2 separate regions of the Homo sapiens genome follow, and region 1 is linked to region 2. The links are contacts of gene promoters, found by promoter capture Hi-C in human tissues and cell types (Jung and others, 2019). All regions are on one chromosome and are shown on one strand. The core of a region is centred on a gene start or on the middle of the fragment in contact, and the rest is flanking DNA. Distances in the headings are between cores, read along the strand shown.

The links. The method cuts DNA at HindIII sites, captures the fragments that hold promoters and counts their contacts. A contact is called where the count stands out against the background at its distance.
Region 1: a fragment that was not itself captured here is called in contact with the fragment with the promoter of PLXNA2 in region 2 in 2 of the 25 tissues and cell types used here (bladder and heart left ventricle).

The regions. Positions count from the first base shown.
Region 1 is chr1:209,345,294-209,351,417 of GRCh38, reverse strand. No RefSeq gene overlaps it. Among named protein-coding and RNA genes, the nearest start is that of LINC01696, 23 kb to the right of the region's middle. The HindIII fragment of the contact is 4,722 bases long and covers 1-3,657 here.
Region 2 is chr1:208,240,387-208,246,646 of GRCh38, reverse strand. PLXNA2 (plexin A2) reads left to right here and starts at 2,263. Exons shown (of 32, transcript NM_025179.4): 1 at 2,263-3,004. RefSeq lists a silencer at 2,146-2,205 and enhancers at 2,724-3,223, 3,224-3,725. The HindIII fragment of the contact is 14,189 bases long and covers 1-6,260 here.

The DNA.
Region 1 (6,124 bases), core at 47-2,546, 1.1 Mb before region 2:
GCTGACCTTGACCTGATCCACGGCACTTTAACTCTGGTAGAGATGGGGCTGACTATGCCACTGAAACCTTTTGCTGGGGAGGGGGAGTCATAAGGAATCTTTATTTTGGGCTGAGGTTTTTCTGAAAACTATAAAGCTGATCATCCCTAAAGAGAGCTTGACTTCACTCCCAAGCTCTACTTCTTGTCAAAAATCTACTTCTGTTGTCAAAAAAGGAGCCACAGTAAGTCATTTAGTCCATTCCTCTGTTTCTGTGCTGTATTTTGTATAAAAATTCCAGAAAGGTGGAATAATAACAGTCCCCATGCTTGATAGCACTTTAGTGTTTACCAAGCATTTTACATACATCATTTCATTTATTGCTTTCCACAAATACTTCAAATTAGTTATTACTGTCTCCATTTTACAAAGCAAATTGAAGGTCAGAGAGGTTGCAGCATGCTGAAAGTCAGGCTGCTTGTAAGAGCCAGTGCCTGGGCATGGACCTTATCTAATGTCCTTTCTACAACATGACTGCACCAGACTATCTGGTGGATGTAGGCTCTTTCCAGGCAAAAAATTTCCACCACTTCCTATTAGGTCCCCTGGCCCTCAGAGATACCTAATATCAATTTCTCCTTCTGTACCTAAACCCATAACTTTTGTTCTCTTACCTAATGCGAATAGGTTTCCAATCTTTAAATAATAATCTTAGACCAGCCTAAAGTTTAGAGGAGCTGTTTTCCTAGTCCTATCTTCTCAACAGTGACTACTTCAAGCTGCTCTAGCTTTTTCTCCTCCTGCTTTGGAGTCAATCAGTTCTGCTACTGGACAAGTCATTTAACTGGCATATATTTTGTCACCTGCAACAGGAGGATGATGCCACCTCTCTTACAGGATTATGACGAGAAAATTAGAAAATGCATGTAAAGTGCACATATGAAATGCACAATAAATCAATATGCTGTACTTACATTTTTTCCCCATTCCTACCTTTCCTTTACCTTCCTCTCTGGTGTTTTTGTTGTCCTTGAAGATACCCAGAGAGAGGACGCACTCCCCATTTAAGTATGTAAATTGATAGCCTGGCACTTTTCTAGGAAAGGGACTCTATTTGGACAAACTTCTCCAAACAAATCATGGAGAGAATCCTGGAAGTACTTGAGGGGCTCGTCAGAGGTTAGCAGTCTCTCTGCTGGCTCAGTGCCTTGTATTCTTGTATCATCCGCATGCACCAATTATGGGCCTAAAACATAGCCAGGAGACGCCACCTAACAGCATTTGATTTATCAGTTTTATTAAACACAGATGCCTTTAATGTGGAGTTGTTTGTAGCTTGTGCTGGATTTCCAGCTACTTTATCTTATCTACTGGCCAATGTATGAATTATCTTCAAAGGACACGGCTTTTGCTTTTTATCACACTTTCTCTCCAACTACCAAGGAAGAGGTCACTTGGGAGACACATCCTTTCATGGCAAGAAAGTAGCCTCGTAGATCAAACGTGGGTTTGTTCTGGAATGGCAAAGCAGCCAGGCCAGGCCTAGAGGAGGGGCTGGCATCGCTCAGAAATGCTCATCAATCACTCACCAAACGGGACCCATGGATAAAGGCTTTGTTGGGAGATGAGTCTCAGCAATCAATTTAGTGGAGGGAGGGAGTGTGGTGCAGTAGGAGGTGCATCCACTCTGGGGCCAGACCAGGTTTCAATTCCTGTATTTGCAGCATACTAGTTTTATGTTTTTAAGGCAAATTATTGAACCTCTCTGAGCCTCAGAAACTATATCTGTAAACTGGGGTTCATACTGGCTTCCTGCTAGCATCCTTGTAAGCACCGATGAGATCATCAACCAGTATGCATTCCTTTCCCCTTCCCTTGATAATTACAGCCTCAGCTGAGGGTCTGATGTTGAGGGCAGGGGTGAGTGAAAGGGATGTCTGTGGGAGGCCCAGGAGTCTCTGCTTCACTGCAGTTTGATGATTGTACTGTGCCTACTCCTTAAAAAGATAAAAAGCCTTTCCTGCAACTTGTATTAATACTCAACACATATTTCATTCTTCCATTTTCCCCTATTCTGTTCTAAGTTGCATGAAAACAGTGCCCTGTTTTTATCCATCCCTGACTTTCCTGCAACACCTGCCATACAGGGCAGGTGGTCAGAAAACGTTTTTGAGATAAAGTCAAAGGGACTCTTTTTTTTCACCTCTGTGATTACAGTATTTTGTTTAGTTTCTGTCTGGCCCAGCAGACTTAGGAGGAAGGTTCTAAGCGTGTTGGCTGCTGCTATTAGCTTTTGAATTCTAGGCAATAGCTTTATATTCTGAGGGGGAGAAGTCAAAAACCACTGAATGGTGACTAAACAGACCAAGGGTCCCTGCCTCATGTGAGCCGGCATGAGTCCTGGCTTCGCATGAACTTGGGAAAGCTATGTAAGCTCTCTGAACCTCAATTCCTCAACCATAAAATGGGGATGATAATAATGGTATCTACTTTACGGGGTTGTGGTGCAGATTAAATGAGTTGCTATCTTTAAAACCTTAGAATAGTGCTTGGCCATAGTGAATGCTTCTTGTGTTTGTTTATGTCACGACTACTATTATTTCTATCTAGTTGTGTGATGGGTAGAGCAAGGTGAGCAGGGCTAAACTCTGCCAGTTATACTATTCTGTGGGCTTTGATGAGCTCAATGGAATAAAAAGGAACAAGAAAGGCAAGACAAGGCAGAACTTGTGTGTGAGTGGCCTGGACCTCAGTCAATCTTCTCTGATGCTGGGCTCTGAACCAGGGTGGGAGTGAGTTCATGATGGATTTGGGGTATCCAAGGGAGAGAATACAGTAATGGATTCTTAGTTTCTGTTTCTGATTGGGCCAGTAAAGCCCCTTCCTCATCCCTCTTTTCCACTTATCACTAGAGGCAGAAACTAAAAGCCATGGCTTCAGGCTGCTAAGAGCCTAAAACAAAACAAAACAAAACAAAACAAAACAGAACAACAACAAAATAAGATGAGTTGGACAAGCTTGATTTAAACTTTGGATGACAACATTTGTCCAGGTAGTTGCTTTTTCTTTGGGTTGGATGCCGAAACAAGTAGAATGAGTCCTGCGATCCCCTTAGCAGATAGCTCTTCTGGCTTACAGAAGCTAATCACATAAACACTGGGAAGAATTCCAGCTCCCCAAAACTAGAAATAAAATTCAAAGATGAGGGTCAAGGTGGGAACTCCTATCTCGGGAATTTTTAACTCAGAGAGTTAAAAATCTGGAGGCTGAGGCTTGAACTTGTGGCAAGAATTATTCAGGTTTTGTTATTATTCCAAATAGTTTTTACCTTCAGGGGAAAATGGAGCTGCAATAGAAGTGTGAACTTAGCTGTCATTTTTGGCCTTTAGCACACTCTGTCATCAAATACTTAATACTTTGGTAAATATGACTCGGTGGTATTGGGTGGTGGGGGCAGGTGGGGTTCACAAAGCTTCGTGCTTCGAGCAGCAACTGTCTTTGGGATGGATAAACCCTCAAAGGAATAGCAGAATTTGATACCTACCATAGAGCTATGGAATGCAGCCCCAGGAGAAACACCTACCATAGAGAGCAGCACTTATAACTTTTGTGGGGTGGGGTAAGAGGGTGGGGATAGAAATAAAGTAATTTATTGCTGGCAAAGGAATGTTTTTCTTCCATCAAAAGTAGGATTTATTGTCTGTATAATGTGTGACATACCCAGATTGGAAGAGTGGTATTTTGTTGAAGATGGTTTTGCCTGGTAAATCCACTCAGGACACCAAAATTATTTAAAATATTAAAATAAACATTTTGTCTTCTTTACAGTGAATACATGCTATTATAGAAAATTCATGCACGAAAACATAAAGAAAAATTAAAGCTTTTCATCATCTGACCATCCAAGATAACCAATTAGCATTTTGTTACAATTTTAGATGTTTTCTATACTTTTTAAACATGTTTCAAAATGACACATTAACATTTTAATTCTGACTTTTAATTATGAAGCATAAGCATCTTCATGTTGCTAGAAATGTTCATAAAATGATGGTGATGACATTACAATTTTCTATTTATTTCTGTGCTTGAATTTACTAAACTATAATAATGCTGGTAAACATTTCATGTCACTTCCTATGTGCCAGATATTGTTCTAAGTGTTTGACATACATTAACTCATTTGATTCCCAAAACCACGTTGTAAGGCTTGTACTGTTAATATTCCCCATATTACAGAGAAATAAATTGAGAGGTTAAGTAATTGCCAGAGGTCACTTGACTGTTGAGTGATGGGGTCAAGATTTGAACAAAGGTAGATAGTGCTCTATGGACAATTCATAGCCCCTCTAGGCTGTTCAGCCACTGTACTGCTGTAGACCTTCAGATCATGGCTAATTTTTTAAGTGAATAAAACTTTTACGAAAGATGTGTTCTCTTTCCCTTACAAGTGACAACTCGGGGCACTGGGCCCAGATTGGCCCTTGGGGTTGGGTGTAGAGATGACAGGGCTGCTGAGCCTGGGAGATAATTTGGGGAACAAATCTCAACACGAAACTCCAACTATGGTGGCAGAGTCTGAATTAGAACCTTTATTTTCTGATTCTTTCCTAGCCTGTTTCTTTCAATGAAGAAAGGCAATGTAATCTTTTGAAAGATCAATGTCTAGAATGAGCTTTTGTGGGCAAAAACTATGGCTTATTAATTACAGAGTATTTTCTCCCTATTTCCATGTTTATAATCTTACTTAGCAAATATTGAGGTTTTTAAACAGCTTTTTAAGTATTGGGAAGGGATTTCGCATTCTTCTCTTTGCCTTGGACCATGGCAGTAGGACGATTTATCTGACTGGGAGACTGGATGACAGGCAGGGGCACAAGGATGGTTTGACCTCTTGCAGGCCTTCTCAGCCCTCTGTCCCTGCCCTTCTGCAAGAGGGTCTAGTTGTCCTTCTGTCTCTTGGGCCTTGAGATCTTTAGCTCAGGAAGACATGAGGCAGTCAGCTCTTCAACCCCCACTCCCCCCAACTGAGCCCTGTGGATTGAGCATGAAAGAAAGCTGTAAGGAGCTTTATTTTGACCACAAGTCTAAGATTCTCCAATCTTGTTTCACCAACAAATAAATTTATATTTGGACTTCCTTATACTTCCAGGGCCTATTTCTCAACTGGTTTAGAATCCATAGAGAGAGGCATAAGATTAAAAGTCCTTTTTAAACTCGGCCTTGATCTTTATGCATTAGAGACAAAAAGTATTAGGTTGGTGCAAAAGTAGTTGTGGGTTTTGCCATTAAAAGTAATTACTTTTGCACCAACCTAATGTTGATGGGAGAGTCACAGTTCCCCTTTCCCCCTAGACCCCAAACACTTAAGAGAACACAGTCTTGGCATGCTCAGCTTCTCCCACCTCTCATTCTCTAGGAAGGTTTCTACCTTGTGAGATATATTACTGAATCCCTCTGAGGCCCAACTCTTGGACTTCTGTGGTGCAGAATTCTGGCAGTGAGTGGTGAGAGACCGAAAGGAGAAGCAAGGACGGAGGGGTTGCATATAAAAGGACAGATTTACTCATGGGAGGAATGAAAGAATAGAGACAGAAGAATAGAAGAAGAAGGAGAAAAGTCAAGAGCTCACCTAGACAACCAGAATGTCTTCTTGAGGAAAGGATTCAGATCAGCTAGGGCATGTGGGAGAGAGTTAGAATCAGAGGAATGGAGAAAGAGAATTTTAAATTTTTACTGGGGGCTGTGCATTGGGTTCCTTTGACACTTTTATTGAAAGAGACTCTGATAAACATTAAAATTCTCAAAAAACTTAAAGAGATTGGGTTTCTTTGAACGCGAATCTAGTTGAAGAGTGGGCCATTTACTGGGTTACATACATCTCCCCAAATGTTAAATCTAACTTGATAGATGTGATCAAATGGGAAATGGAAGAAATACCCCAAAGTATCCTGAACCCTGGGATGGGTAGCTGTGGATATATTCAAGGGCTGGGGTCAGTCTCACTTTGAACCTATGCTGTTTTATCCTAAAACTGGGCACCTGGGGAGACACCCTCAATGTCTCCCTGGTATCCACTTGTATGAGATACTGAGGATATGTTGGGAGAGATTATGTCCTAGAGAAAGAAGATCGAGGAGTACAA
Region 2 (6,260 bases), core at 1,014-3,513:
CCCCCAGTTGTCTGGAGAGTGAAGACAGAAATTCCCATCTTACAGATGGACAAACTGTGGCCTAGAGAAGTTAGAGGTACTTCATCCACTGTACCTCCCAGTAGATCAAGTTAGCGCTCTTTCCATTGCTATGCTGACCACAGGCTCTTCCATAGTCTCACAGGACTCAGATCTTAGACCCTGTTCAGTGGCAATGTGGAATCTGGATGGCGTCGTGCCACCCTGTCAGCCACAATGTGTCCTCCCGCCTGTGTTCCCTCTTTCTCTCCCTTTATTCAGGAAAGAGAGGGGAGGTGTGGGGATAAAAGATGGGGTGAGTGGAAGAGTCTGTTTCATTTTATGCTTCCTTGCTCTTCATTCTAAGATTTATTTCTGGACCACAGGAGTGGAGGGTGGCATATGAGAAAATTATTTCAATTGTATCATAATCTTCCCAAGGTGTGATTAAATTGAGGCATAGGGAAGAGAGGTGACCTCTTCCAGAGTCAGACACCACTTGATTTAGAACCAGAGGGCCCTAATTTTCAGCTTGGAGCTTTATCAATTAGATATCTCCAATCCTACCACGGCTGGTCTTAGGTGTAGCTGGCCAAACTCCATGAACAAATGGAGGAAGTGTTCCAAAATCTTCTAGCATCTTCTTCAAATCATCTTTTTTAATAAATTGTGGTTTAGATTCAGTCTACCCAGAGATAAAACGATCGACTAGTCTGTCTGCATGGGGAGACAAGATCTACTTATAAAAATAAATAAATAATAACACAGGGTAAATATGATAATTTATTGGTGTGTTACCAACAATGAATGCTAAAGAAGTTTGAAGGAAAGAACAGGTATGGATCAGGCAACACAGCTTAGACAGATTCTTTGTGGTCCCACAGGACAAAACTAGCAGTAGCCAGTGAAAGTTACAGGAACACAAATTTCAGCTAATTACAATGAAGAACTTTTGAAGAATTCGCTGATTTCTGCAGATGTTGGAGTAAAGCCTAGATCCCCCAGTCCTGTGTTGAATGTGCGATTGTTCGAGATGACTGGTTAGTCTAGATTTCCTTTTCTTCTTCCTCTCTCTCTCTCTTTTCTCCGGCTCCCTTTCTTCATCCTTCCCTCCCTTCGTTTCTTCTGCCGCTACTGCTCTAAGAATTTGGTGCAATTGCTTTTAGGTATTCGCAGTGATTTTTGTTGTTTTTTAGATTTATACCACTGAGGACTGTGGCCACGAGAGGGCAGTAGAGGAAGCTTATCAGAATACTTGGACAGGAGTAAACTCGTGTGCGCTCTAATCGCGAGCAGGGACTACGCAGATCCTGCGAACTCGCTGGGGTCCAGCTTGCAGGCCGCTTCCGGAAAGCCGTGTCTAGAGGCTGCGGAGTTACTGAGACTGTGTGGCGAGGAATCAGTGGCCTTGAGGGCACCGAGACATTGTCATCCAGAATCCCGAAACCTCTCACCTTAGGTTATTAAAATAAGTTATCTTATTGCCACCCCTCTGATTACCCTGCCAGAAAGATTCTCTGAATTGGATATAGAAAGCTCTTCTCCCGTCCCCAATGCCCCCATGCAAGTCGGGACTTACCAGATGCCCAGGATCCCTATCAGGGCTGGAAGTTTGAGATTCAATTCAGAGCAAGGTTCATCTTCTCATTGCAATAATAATAATAACAACAACTTCAAGCCTTATTTGACAGCTTGTTGGCCTTTTTCTTTTTTTAATTTACAAGAAGAGGAAATTTGCTCCCACAAATTCCAAGACTCTAGTCTCAACCCTACCAGACAAGCCCCGTTCCTCCCCACTCACCCCTCACTCAAATTACAGATGAAGAGGGAGGTGTGCAGGATGTGTGCGGTGACAGGTGATGCGAATGGGGGGGATTCCCTGTCCCTACTGCCCTCACCCACTCTTCCTGTGTTCTGAGCTCCCCCCTAACCCCAACGCTAGACCTTCTATTCCCCCGGGGGCCAAGCCAGCTGGGCTCGCAAGGCCCGACTCGAATTCCCGGGCCCTGGCAGCATTTTCCTTGCCCCCTTGGCTACTTAAGGTGGCCGATGGGTCCGGGCTGAGCTGGGCGCAGGACAGGCAGCCGAGCGGCCTCCGGATGCCAAACCTGCTTCTCCTTTGTTGACAGCTTGCGGAGGAGGAAGTCCGCGCGGGCGGGGGAGGGGGCAGGGTGCTGGCGGTGGCGGGCGGTGCCAGCAGCGGGCGCGGCCCCAGCCCGGGCGGACGCGGCCGGCGGGGAGGGGGTTAACGCGCGCGGCCTCTATGATAATGAGCTGCATGGTGAAATAGGGAGGCCGGCGCTCAGGGCTCCTCCGCCGCCGCCGCCGCCGCCGCCGCCGCCGCCACCGCGGGAGCCAGAGCTGCCGGGAGGAGCGGCATCCGCGCCAGACTGGAGCGGGAGGGCGGCGGAGGGCAGTTGCTGGGAATTTTTCAGCCGAGAGGGCGAGCGATCCGGAGAGAGACCCCGAGAGCTTGGGAGCGGTAGGGCGTGCGAGCGCCGCAGCCAGCGGAGCAAACCTCGAAATAGATCTGGAAAGCCAGGCTCCCGGAGGAAATGGGACTGTGAACGAACCGGAGAGCAAGAAGGGAAGGAAGCGCCGGGATTGCTGATGTCAGAGGAGCCCGGAAAGTCGCGCTGGAAAAATCTGAAGACAGCCGGGGCTCTGCTTCTTCCTCAGGAGAGACACCGCCGGCCGCCCCCACACGCCCCCTCGGCGCCTCCGGGTGCCCCCTGAGAGCCGGCGACAGCGCCCAGCCGGGCTGCTGCGGGGCGACGGAGGACTGAGGGGCGCGCGGAGCGGAGACCGAGGAGCGACTTCAGGAATACAGATAAGTGTCTGGTGGCTTGACGTGGATTTTAATGAATTTGGACTCCATGTGGATTTGGTCGTCTCCCTGATTCCGAGCTGCGGGCAGGGAGAGGGGCCTCGCGCCGCCCTCAGCAGCCGGCGGCGGCCGAGGTAGACCGAGCGGGGACGGAAGGACAGACCGACGTCGCCGAGCTGGGTAAGCGGCGGCTGGGCCGGGCGCTCGGAGTCGGCAGCGCCCTCCGCCCTCTCCCCACAGGCGCGCACACCCGTGGCGGCTTCTCCCGCGCCCGCCTCTTTGGGGTCCCGGCCCCAGAAGACCCGGCTTGGCCGCGGCGGGCGAGTCCCCGCGTGGGCTCGGCCACTTTCGCGGGCTGGAGCGCGGCGTGCGCGCGATCGCAGGCTCACTGGAGCCGCTGCCTCCCGCCGAGGGCTTCCCGGCCGGCAGCCCGCCGGCTTCCCGAATGCGGGCTGAGGGCGGCAGCAGCGCTCCGCGGCGCGCCTCCACCGCGCACCTGCCGGCGCTCTGCGGCTTTGGGGAGCTCGGGGCGGCAAGGCTGTCCTGAGAGCTGGAGCCCAAAGAGGGCCTCGGTGGCACCAGCGAGACAGCCCAAAGCCACACTGGCCAGCGATCGATTTGGGGGCGTTCACTCCAGTGCCGGGGTCCCTGGTGGCCGCCGGCTCTCCCTTCCGATCGGGGACTGGAGATCAGGGGAATGGGAAAACATCATTTGCGCGGGTTCCATAAGGCTCAGGGAGAGATTCCTAGGCACTGAATGGGTCTAAGTGTTTCATCTCCCGGGGCTCCCTTTGCGGTGTATCGCCCAGCAGGGGTCCAGCCCCTTAGTTTGAGCACCACAGGAGTGCTGGGGGTTGAAATGGGAGTTTGCTTAGGGTCCCAGAGGCTCCTTATGAACCATTTGAGAATGTTTCCTTCCATGTGCTCTTTCTTGCCCCACCCCACAAGTGAGGTAGGGATCCTAGAAAATTCTAGCCCTTTTTATCCATCCCACAGGTAGTCTCTATAATGCCAATCATGGTCTAGATGCCCAGAGAGTCACCAGAAACTACCATTTTAGATCCCCGAAAAAAGTCCACCTGTTTGGAATGACCCTTGCCCTAGTGGGAGCTACCTACTCAAACTCAGCTCTGCTCAGGAGGGATAGAAATAATGGTGGGGAGGAAGTTGGATAAAAGATTTGGGGCTCTAGGTCAGTAAGGGTCTAGAAATGAGAGCCCCATGAAGTGGGCAATGGAAATCTGAACAGGTCCCCTGTAGGAATCTTAGAGTGACAGTGGCACACCAGTAGAAAGTGCACAAGGGACATGAAGGCAGCATCAGTTTGAGGGGACTGGGACTGCCAGTCATAGCTTGAGGCAGTCACTTGGGGGCCCATCAGTTTGGAAGAACCCACAGAAATTTGGGGGCACATTCATTTCCTTCCATTCACGCGCACAGTGGACAAGGCTTATGAGCGGCAGGCCAAGATGAGTATCTTGGCTGGCCTGGGCTGGAGGCTTTGAGAGCAGGAGTCAGGTTTAGCTCTCCCCTCTCCCCACACAATAGCAGTCTCCCTCCTTTGCTGGGCTTCTTTCCCAGATCTTGAAACTTCACTCTTCCCTCTGGGTTGGCTTTGGATTCTGGGGCCTTCTACTGATTGACAGAGCCCCAGGAAGAGATAACCTTGGCTGGAGGAATTCAGCTATTCCTAACTGAAATGCACAACTTTTATGCAATAACCCCAGAAAGCTCCCAGAGTTGCTTGCAGCCCTCTCCCCTCTGACCTCCAGGCAAGAAAAGAGAAGAATTCATTAACTTCCCTCTCTCTTCACGGAGCACCATTTGAACTAATTACCTGGGATCTCTCCTTGGTGGTGGCCTGGAGGCTGAAGGGGCAGTGAAGAGAAAGGGTAGGGAACCAAGGAAACAGTGGAATCTGTCATAGCGAGGTTGTTTTTCATTCCCCTTCTTCCACCTGGCATCACCACCAACCCCTCCTCATTCCAGAACTTGCCCCTGCTGCCACCAACCAGCATTACCTAAAGGAGCTATTTCCCTCCACTCCGCAGCCGATCGTCTTCAGGGACCTGCTGATAAAGGGAGGGCAATGCAGATTACCCTCTCTGCTCCCTCACTGTCCTCAGCAAATTGCATTAGGATGGGGGCAAACTGGCTTGCAAAGCAGTTAAATGGAAATGACATTTGGAGCGATGTGCAGGGAAGATGCTGAGGAGCAGCAGTGGTAAAGTACCAGGAGATCTCTATCCAGGGACCATGAGTCTGCCAAGGAAATCCCAGCTGGTCCTTCTTTTTGGCAGGGCATAAGGACAGGGGTCCCTCAAAGCCTGGAGCAGGACAGGGGGGCTGGCTAGCTTTTCAGCCCAAGTCTAAATGAAGAGTATGGCAGTGTCTTATGTCCATCGCCCAAAACCATGTCATTACAAGGTTGGTGGCCCCCCTTTCAGAGCTAGTCTGAATACCTATCCCTGTCTTCAGAGCACCAGGGAACATTCACCCTGCAACTCTCTTGACCATCAAAAGCTGCAGATGCGGTGAATGTAAAAGTTCCTTCACCATCTGTTTTACTGAAGTCTGCACTTAAAATGAGGTTAAAAAGAAAGCCCTCAAAGAACAGCTACCTGTTTCCTAGGTCCCTTTCCCATTTACCAATACTTCTGCTTACTCAGCTAATCTTTATTTCATGGGCAGGTTACAAGAAAACATAGGAACAGGAGGGGAAACCAGTGACATGGTTAAATATACAAGGCAGCAGCTGACAGCAGCCTAAACTCACCACTTTAGGTGCTATGAAATATTTATGGTGCTGGAGTTGTCACTGTTTGGGGGTTTTATAGTTTCTATCCTACCTCATTTTCTATGATTGCCTCCCTAAGATATAGGGTTTGGTGTGGGGGAGGCAATTCCTGTCTCCAGCAGCACCTCCCCACCACCACCAGCTGTCTCCCTGCATTGCCACACAGCTGTCTCCACACACACGAACTGAGGCACAATATACTTCTGTCCATCATGGCAAATGGAGAGGCAAGGAGCGCCTAGCCAAGCCCCCACCCCCCACCCCCATTCTGATCATAAAGAGACTGGAGCATTGTGTTACAGTCTGTTAACTAGAAATAATTCAGGACTGACTGTCCATAGGGAAACTGGTAGAAACAGGCTTTGAGGTGCTGGGAGTTTTACAGCTCGTGTGCGTTCCCCCCTCAGCCCCAATCACCACCGCCCCACCCAGGGGCAGTCTGTTATCAATTCATTATATGTGAATATTCTATTTCTACCCTTCACATATGCTCAGTTCAAACAATGATGAATGGAACCAGTTCCCTGAACAGTTTTTTCACTTCGTTACAAAGATTTCATGCCTGATTAGAGTAAATGAGGGGTGGGTGTGCATCCACTTCTTTTTCGGTCATTTCTAAAGGTGAGCCCTATGGAGACA